2 separate regions of the Homo sapiens genome follow, and region 1 is linked to region 2. The links are contacts of gene promoters, found by promoter capture Hi-C in blood cells and fetal thymus (Javierre and others, 2016). All regions are on one chromosome and are shown on one strand. Each heading gives the region's core, a stretch centred on a gene start or on the middle of the fragment in contact. The rest is flanking DNA. Distances are from core to core; before and after follow the strand shown. Region 1 holds the start of KLC3 (kinesin light chain 3). Region 2 holds the start of NKPD1 (NTPase KAP family P-loop domain containing 1).

Evidence for each region. Contacts are between HindIII fragments. The CHiCAGO score rates a contact against its expected background, and 5 or more counts as called.
Region 1: a contact is called between the fragment with the promoter of KLC3 here and the fragment with the promoter of NKPD1 in region 2, in 2 of 17 cell types (megakaryocytes and erythroblasts). The highest score is 6.9, in megakaryocytes.

The regions. Positions count from the first base shown.
Region 1 is chr19:45,337,851-45,342,512 of GRCh38, reverse strand. It overlaps KLC3 (kinesin light chain 3), which reads right to left and starts at 1,763. Exons shown (of 13, transcript NM_177417.3): 1 at 1,667-1,763. RefSeq lists a silencer at 1,778-1,867. The HindIII fragment of the contact is 17,587 bases long and covers 1-4,662 here.
Region 2 is chr19:45,158,918-45,163,457 of GRCh38, reverse strand. It overlaps NKPD1 (NTPase KAP family P-loop domain containing 1), which reads left to right and starts at 2,476. Exons shown (of 5, transcript NM_198478.4): 1 at 2,476-2,533; 2 at 3,237-3,398; 3 at 4,358-4,540. The coding sequence starts at 3,308. It overlaps TRAPPC6A (trafficking protein particle complex subunit 6A), which reads left to right. Exons shown (of 6, transcript NM_001270891.2): 6 at 235-525. The coding sequence ends at 266. RefSeq lists an enhancer at 2,194-2,826. The HindIII fragment of the contact is 37,147 bases long and covers 1-4,540 here.

The DNA of each region.
Region 1 (4,662 bases), core at 514-3,013, 180 kb before region 2:
GCTGGGATTACAGGCGTGAGCTACCGCGCCCAGCCAACCTTTTTTTAATTTTTAAAAAACTAAACTATGCCCAGCTAATTTTTGTTTTTGTAGAGACGGGGTATCACCATATTGCCCAGGCTAGTCTAGGATTCCTGGGTTCAAGCAATCCCCGCCGCCTCAGCCTCCCAAAGTGTTGAGATTACAGGTATGAGCCACTGCACCCGGCCAATCTGTGTGCTTGTGTATATCACACCATACCTATTCTCACACCTCACACACAAACATCATAAATGGTTGAACTCACAACCACACAGGTTCAAGAGTCATCCTGACAACCACAACCATTCTTCACACAATTTTGCCGATGTAAAACCTCCCTCTATAACCTCAGACACAGCCTTACACACACCACTCCACAGCCAGATTGACAACCACAGCAACAAACACGGCTCAACCACAGCCATCCAGCACTCGGGCTGTGTCCCAGACACACAGCAGCTCCCACACTCACACAGAGCCCCGGGTGCACAACCGCACAGCTGATAATCATAGGCACAGTCCCACACACTGATCCCTGACGCGGACCCCCTTTTCCATCCTGTCACCCGCTTGGAGGAGCATCCCACTTAAATGTCCACGTCTCCACTCCCATCTCCCACAAACTCTCCGTTGCACACCACTGCCAGCCACGGTATCAATGCAGATCACACACCCTCTAGTTCCTCTCTACACACACACACACACACACACACACGCACACACGGCTTCACACACCTCCACACCTCACTCATCCAACCCCAAGGTTCCACGCGCACCGTCCCATGAAACAGCTCCACTTCTGGACACAGTTCCGCCCAGCCCCATGCACCATCACAGTGACACACAATCAAAAGTCAATCATAGTCACCTATCACTGATCCAGTGCCACACTGTCCACCACACGCGCGCGCGCACACACACACACACACACACACACCAACAGGCAGAAAGACAACCACAGCCGCACAGCCTCTTGGTCAATCACACCTAATCCTACAACCAGTTCCACTCTCTGCCATGAAGACAGCCACACACACAGCCACACACATGCACATCAGGCCAAGCAGAAAGTCGACTACAGTCGCACTAGCTCTTGGTCGTAAAGTGCTACCAGCAATCCAATTCTACACACACACCATTCCAGTCAGAGGTCGCCCACGTTTTCACATTGCTAAAAGTGTCACATCATACACACAGTCCCATCACAGGGTTACACGGACAGTCGCTTTCACCCTCATACCCACAGCCTGACACACTCTCTTACACACACGCAAAGCCACACACACACACACACACACACACACAAACACAGGCAGGCAGGAGACTCCCATCGTGGCCCAGCCCCGCAAGCCGCACCAACTTACCCTGGCCTGCCCAGCCCCGCGCACCAGGCTCACCCGCAGTCACAAGGGCCCCCTCCCTCTCCCTCCCAGGCCCCGCCCCGTCCTCGCTGTTTACCTGCGCTGGGGTGGGGGGCATGGGACCCCAGCCAGGCCTCCAGATCCCGGAGAGCCCCAGGACGGGGCAGGGGGCATCCGGGAGCCCCAAGGCCCTTCCCCGTCTCAGGGCGAGCGGGCCCAGGGTTGCCCCCGCCCCCCATCATCGCGGCTCTCCGAGAGTCCCGCGCCCCACTCCCGGCACCCACCTGACCGCGGGCGGCTCCGGCCCCGCTTCGCCCCACTGCGATCAGTCGCGTCCCGCAGGCCAGGCACGCCCCGCCGCTCCCGCTGCGCCGGGCGTCTGGGACCTCGGGCGGCTCCTCCGAGGGGCGGGGCAGCCGGGAGCCACGCCCCCGCAGGTGAGCCGGCCACGCCCACCGCCCGTGGGAAGTTCAGCCTCGGGGCTCCAGCCCCGCGGGAATGGCAGAACTTCGCACGCGGAACTGGTAACCTCCAGGACACCTCGAATCAGGGTGATTGTAGCGCAGGGGCCTTGGCCAAGCTAAAACTTTGGAAACTTTAGATCCCAGACAGGTGGCTTTCTTGCAGTGCCTGCCCCAGAGCCTTTTCCTTGGTTGTGTGGCCTGCTTCGATCTCTCTTCCCACAGATCTCATCGTCTTTAGGTCTCTTCTCAAAGGCCACCTCCTCCGGCAGGCCTTCCCTGATTGCCCCCTTCTAAATGGCACCCTTCCACCAAAACATTACATACTCCTCTTGATTTTGTTCACAAAACTTTTCAGGGCCTAAAATTACCTTATTTATTTATTGAGAGGGAGTCTCGCTCCGTCACCCAGGCTGGAGTGCAGTAGCGCGATCTCGGCTCACTGCAACCTCCACCTCCCAAGTTCAAGCGATTCTCCCATCTCAGTCTCCCGAGTAGCTGCGACTACAAGTGTCTGCCACCACGCCCGGCTACTTTTTATATTTCTAGTAGAGACGGGGTTTCGCCATGTCGGCCAGGCTGGTCTCAAACTCCTGACCTCAAGTGATCCTCCCGCCTCGGCCTCCCAAAGTTCTGGGATTACAGGAGTGAGCCACCGCCCCCGGCCCCTAAAGTTATTTTATATAACATATATCACATCATTATGTTATGTTATATATTATGTTATTGGCAAGGGAATGTGATATCTAAGAATTGGGCTCAGGGTTCAAATTTGATTCCGGCACTTACTTGCTGTGCAGGCCTTGGGCAAGTAACTTAACCTCTCTGTGCCTCAGTTTCCCTAGTCAATAAAATATAAATAGTCTAAGGCTTTGAGAATTGAATGTTAACTAATACAGGGACAGTACTTTTTTTTTTTTTTTTTTTTTTTTGAGACACAGTCTCGCTGTGTTACCCAGGCTGGAGTACAATGGCGCTATCTTATCTTGGCTCACTGCAACTCCTGGGTTCAAGTCATTCTCCTGTCTCAGCCTCCCGAGTAGCTGGGATTACAGGCGCCCGCCACCATGCCCAGCTAATTTTTCCATTTTTAGTAGAGACGGGGTTTCCCCATGTTAGCCAGGCTGATCTCGAACTCCTGACCTTAGGTGATCTGCCCACCTCGACCTCCCAAAGTGCTGGAATTACAGGCGTGAGCCACCGCGCCTGGCCAGGACAGTACTTTTATCAGGGCCTCGCAAATAGAAAGTACTTAGTAAATACTCGCTACTGACTGTATATTATGGGTTCACTTTTTCTCCTCTACTATATAAGCTCTGAGGGCAGGGCTGTATATTGTCAGCACTGTTATCTTCAGCAAGAGCTTGATGCAAAGTCGGTGCTCAATAAATTGTGACTGAATGAAGGAATCAAGTCCTAGAATAGTAAGCTGGCCAAAGCTGGGAGGACACGATTCTAATATAACTTGAGGACGGCGCAGTGGCTCACACCTGTAATCCCAGCACTTTGGGAGGCCGAGGGGGCTGGATCACTTGAGGTCAGGAGTTCGAGACCAGCCTGGCCAACATGGTGAAACCCTATCTCTACTAAAAATACAAAATTAGCCGGGTGTGGTAGCGCACGCCTGTAATCCCAGCTACTTGGGAGGCTGAGGCAGGCGAATCGCTTGAACCCCAGAGGCAGAGGTTGCAGTGAGCCGAGATCACACCATTACACTCCTGCCTGGGCAACAAGAGCGAAACTCCATCTCAAAAATAAATAAATGCATACATACATACATGGCTCAATGCGCGCGGTACCCCGGTCACTACACTATGAAATGCTTCCAGCAGAGGGCGCTGCTGGTCCGTGGACCAAACTCCAGACTCGGCACAGCTCCGCGCTCCCTCCGAATTGCAGCCAACGTGCCCTCTACTTCCCTGTTGTCTGAGCCCCAGTGCTGATGCTTCCTCCTCCAGGAAGCCCTTTCTTATTTCCCAGGTTTCCAGGCTCTTGGGCTCCCACATCCAGCCCTGCCAACTCTGGGTCATCAGTGTGGGGAGACAGGTCAGTCCCATATTAGACTATGAGCCCCAAGAAGGGAGGAGGCGGCCAGGGGCCATGTCAGTCTCCACTGTGTCCCCAGTGCCACCTAGCACAGGCCCAACGCAGAGAAGGCATTTGGGAGAATAGGTGCTGATTGAATCATGGAAATAAAAATTCAAACTCATATCCTAACTACTCCAGCATTTTTTTTTTTTTAAGACAGTCTTGCTCTGTTGCCCAGGCTGGAGTGCAGTGGCACGATCTTGGCTCATTGTGTAACCTCCGCTTCCCAGGTTCAAGCGATTCTCCCGCCCCAGCCTCCCAAGCAGCTGGGATTACAGGCACCCACCATCATGCCTTGCTAATTTTTATATTTTTGTAGAAATGGAGTTTCCCATGTTGGCCAGGCTGGTCTTGAACTCTTGACCTCAGGTGATCCACCCACTTCGGCCTCCCAGAGTGCTGGGATTATAGGCGTCAGCCACCATGCCCGGCCTACTCTAGCTTTTTTAAAAGACAGGTGTCACTCTGTCACCCAGGCTGGAGTGCAGTGGCAGTCGTAACTCACTGCAGCCTTGATTTCCCGGGTTTAAGCAATGCTCCCTCCTCAGCCTCCCAAGTCCCAGGTAGCTGGGACTACAAATGCACCACCATACCCAGCTACTTTTTGTTGTTTTTTGTAAAGATGGGGGTCTCCCTATATTGCCCAGGCTGGTTTTGAACTCCTGACCTCAAGCGATCCTCCTGCCTTGGCCTCCCAAAGTCCTGGGATTACAGGCATGAGCCACTGTGCC
Region 2 (4,540 bases), core at 1,227-3,726:
AGCAATGCATACCACAGAAGCCCGTGCCGGGCGCTTCCCTGGGGCCACATCCGTGGCCCTCATGCTCCTGGTTACTCACACAGCTCAGGGATGCGGCCCCGTGGGCGGGAGGAAACAGCCCAACCTAGCCACTGGGGTGTCAGTGCAGGACGGGGGTGAGCGCCTAAGAGCCGTCCAGGTGCCCTCTGCCTCCCCCATCCCATCCTCAAGCCTAAGCCAGGCCTTCTCTTCCAGGTAAGTTCCAGGTGGTGATTCCGAAATCCTAAGCCTGCCTCGCACCTGCTGAGCCGCACTGCTGCCCCTGGCCTCACCGGCCTCAGGAGACGGTGGGGCCGCTGCATTTCGGGGTGGTCTTGGGAATCCCAGGCCCTAGGGGTCACATTTGCTCAGGAAGTGGGTATCAAATTGAGGTGGGGGTGTCAGAGGAGGCAAAGGGGTCCCAGCTGCGGTCAGGACTGTGGTGGGATTCCCGCCTCGGCAGCGTCACTGCCCAGTAGCTGCTCAATAAAGGCTGTGTGTGTGGAATCTGACTCAGAGCAGTGGGGGAGGATCTGTGGACCGACTGTCACAGGTCCTGCAGGGGAGTGGGTACCCTCTCTGGCTCCCATGCCCCTCAGACCTTCCCTCCCCTGCCACGTCCCCCTCCACTCCCTCCCTCCCCGTGCTCCTGGCAGAGGGATGCTGGCCTCCGGCATGGGCGGCCTTACTGGCACCTCTGCCAAGTCAACAAGTCTGGGGCTGCCCTCTGCCCGGCGATGTGCACAGAACGGAGCGTCTTCCTGGGGAGCAGGGCTGGGAGTGCCCGGAGTGTAGGCCAGGTCGGGCTGGGGCTGCCAGGGCTGGGGATGCATGGGGTAGGGGGAGGCCAGACACCCCCATGGACACACGCGGCCCCTACGCACTCCTGCTGCCCGTCCCTGGGCAGAGTGGCCCTTATGCTGCCCCCTCCCACCCCGCTCGCATCTGTAGCATCTGGGGACTCCTGGGCTTCGCCGCCCGCTGCCTGACATGGGTAAGTGCCCCAGGCTCAGAGCTGCCCACCAAGGCTGGGGGTGAACCCCAAATGGGATGAGAAAGGGGCCCCTTGCTAAAGAACCTCCCCTGTAGAGTGGGGTCCAGTCACCCCGTCAGGCCCTGCCTGGGTCACCCCTTCCTATTCCACCTGGCTGAGTGTAGCTGTGTCCTGTGTCTGCCTCTGCAGTGCTGCCCGCCTGGCCCACTCCCCAAACGCCTGCTCCCCCTAGTGTCCAGCAGCCTCCTGGCCACTGTGCTCCCAGCCCGGGGCAATCTCGTCCTGCGGAGACGGCTCATTTACATTGGGCCACGCTTCATGATCGGGCCGGGGGTGTGGGGGGTTGGCACGGAGGCCCACTGCAGATGCCCACGCTCAGATGCCAGCCCCGCCTCCCTGGTGGGCCAGGGAGGAACCTTCCCAGAGCAACCGGCTTGAAGGGTGGGGGAGGAGACGGGGTCCCAGGTCGCAGGAAGGGCCCTGGCTCTGGCCGTAGGGAGCAGTGTTTGGTCACCTGGGCAGAACTCAGGGCTGGGTGGGTTCCCTTTATCTTGTCCTGGGCACTGTTCTGGGGCTGCCTCCCCCATCCCCATCGGAGCACCCCGTCTGTCAGGGAAGCAACTGTTGACCCCGTTACGCCAGCAGCCACAGGGAGCCGGGGCCCCAGAGAGCCGAGGGGCCTTCAGGGCATCTCCTGCCCAGCCTTACCCCGGCCCTCACCCCTCAGAGGGCATCTGTGGGGAGGCAGTCACTGAGTGCTGGCCCCGAGGGCAGGAGACAGAGCCTTGGCGAGCCTGGGAGTAGCAACCACTGACTGCTTCCAAATCCCCGCCCTGCCTCTGTGTGCCCTGGGGCCGAGGACTTCACTTCTCTGGGCCTCAGTGTCCTCATCTGTGAAGCGGGCATCACACCTGGCCCCCTGGGTGGTGGAGAGGAAGACGGGGCTATGGTGTAGCAAGCCTTGATGTGTGTGCTGTTGCCCTTGTCCTATGGACATCCATTTAGAACAGCGCCAGGTAAATGGGTCAGCACAGCCCCGGGTCAGGTGCGCCAGGCCCTGAGCTGAGGGGACTCCCACCCAGTGCCTCCCTCGCGACAGCCACGAGAGGCAGGTGCCCACTCAGCAATGAGGAAGCCATGGCTCGGAGAGTGAAGTCACCTGCCCAAGGTCACATACCTGGGCCACGGAGGAGCTGGCATCCCAGCTCCCTGTCCCCCCCACACCAGCAGAAGTGCCTGGGCCTGTGGCTGCCTTAAGGAGATTGAGGCAGTGCTGCGGGATGCATCTCCGTTCCTTACCAGGGATGGGGACACAAGACTGAGTCCAGTCGGAGTCCCAGTCCTCGAGAGCAGAGAGCACTGGGACAGGCAGGCGCTGGGGAAGGGGCGGGGACAGGCAGGCAAACCGGTCAGGCGGGCACTGGGCTGAGGCCTCCATCTGGATGGGCCTGCGCTGACAGTCCGGGCTGGTGTGGCAGCTGCTCGTGGGGCAGGCAGCTGGGGCCGTGAGGCCACCGTCAGGTACGAGTGGGACTGGGACTGGGGGTGGGGAGTGGTGGGCAGGCTACCAACTCTCAGCACCCCAGTTTCCTCTGCCCCTCAGCCTTTCCCTATCCCTGTCCCCCACACAGCATCCTTCCCTGTCCTGCTTTCGGCTCTTCACATTGGAAACGCGGTACACCCATCTTGCCCGAGTTTGCTGAGCCTCTCCCCAAATTGGACCACCGCGATTTCATTGCTCCCTCACAATTCCCCCTCCACCGTATCATTCAATGCCCACAGGTACCCAGCTCTGATTTTCACTCACCCTGCTTCTCATCTGCTCTCCAGCTCACCTCACTAGCTCCATGTCCTTCCAAAGCGTGCCAGCCTCCCACAGCGCCCACACCTTAATGACCCCTTGGTCACTCAGCCACCACACCGGACCCCCTATTTCCCCAGCCCATGTCTGCTCAGCACTCCCCAGTGTCCTAGCCTCTTGGAAACTCCCAGGAGCTTCCCAACACCCAGCCTCAAATTAACCCCTAGCCAACCCCAGCGGTTCTCCGTTCCCTCCTCTGGCCATCCCTCCTTATCCTGCCCCTCACTGTACCCTGAAGGCCACCTCTACCCCCTTCTCCCAAGTGACCTAGGAACCCAGCATCTGGGACTTGGCCTTTCCCCTGTCCAAGCTGTCGGGCAGGGCAGGGACCCTGACCTCAGCTCTCTGCTGTTCGTGCCCCAGAGGCTACGCCAAGCCTGTGTGCTCCCTCCTGCCTCAGGAGCAGGCCCCCAGCACCCAGCTGCCCGGCTGCCATGCACAAACATTACAAAGTCCACTTCGCCAAGGATGCCCAGAGCCCCAACGGGCACTACTTCTGGGACCCAGAGTTGGGGCACCGAAAAGGTACGGGTTCAGTTTGGGGGCGGGTGATGGCCGACAGAGGCCTGTGAGGAAGCCAGAGTGAATGGAGGAACAGAAGGGGAGCTGTCATCCCCAGGAGAGAAAAGCCACTTGCACTCCACCCAGAGGCATCTGTGTAGCAGCAGGGCCTGGGACCCAGGACCCGGACCACAGGGCCTGCGGGCCCAAAGATAGGAGCCTGGGCTGGAGTTGGAAGCAGGGGCCGCCTGGCCTGCCCTGCCCCGTTTCCAAACCCTGAGGCCTGTGTGGATGGCCTCCAGCCTGGAGGGGAGCAGTGTGCTGGGAGTGAGGGGTAGGAGAGGGAGCCCCCCCACTGAACATGTCTGGATGAGGCTGGGCCCAGTTTCTGGTGGTGACCACAGGTGATCTTGTTCAGGGTGGGGAGGGGGCAGTGCCCTCCCACTGGGGCTGATTCAGCCTCCTCAGGGCTAGGGCGAGGGCTGGAGCTTCCCAGGTCACCACCCTTCCTGCCACCCTGGCCCGAGCTGGGGACAAGGTCCACCCCCCACCCAAATCCCTGGCCTACCCCTCTCCACGCCACCACCCATCACTCCGGCCTCCCTGGGCCAGCCAGGGCCAGCTCCCAATGGATCTTCTCAGTTTCCCTGACCCCTGCACTGGCGGCACCCCCCAGGGATCCAGGAATCTGCTGTGGCAGGCACCAGCCTCCATTGAAGCCCCAACCTCAGGCGTCCTCTCTCTGCCCCCAGCTGAAGTCCAAGCCTGCACCTTCCCTGCTCCCCCGCCATGGGACAGCACAGACCCTGGGTCCCTCCCCTGCCCATACCTCCCCCGCACATAATCTTACTTTTTGAGGGGTTTCTGGGGCTCCCAAGAATACTCTGGCCCCCAGGTTCTACCTGAAGACTTGGTCTGGCTTGTGCCGGTGCCCCCGGGGGTCGGGGACACAGGCCCAGTCACCCCCACTTCCTTCCTTCCAGGATGCTGTCATCAGTGGCGCCAGGACTCAGCGGCCCTCCGAGCCCATGGGCCCTGTCGGCCTTCCCCCCAATCACACTGGCAGCTGGCCTACCACAGCCACCAAGTGGGTGGCAGTGGCTGGCGCCGGGGCCTCCTGCCCTCCGTCCTGCAGCAGCAGCGGCAGCCCCAGTCCCAGCCCTCAC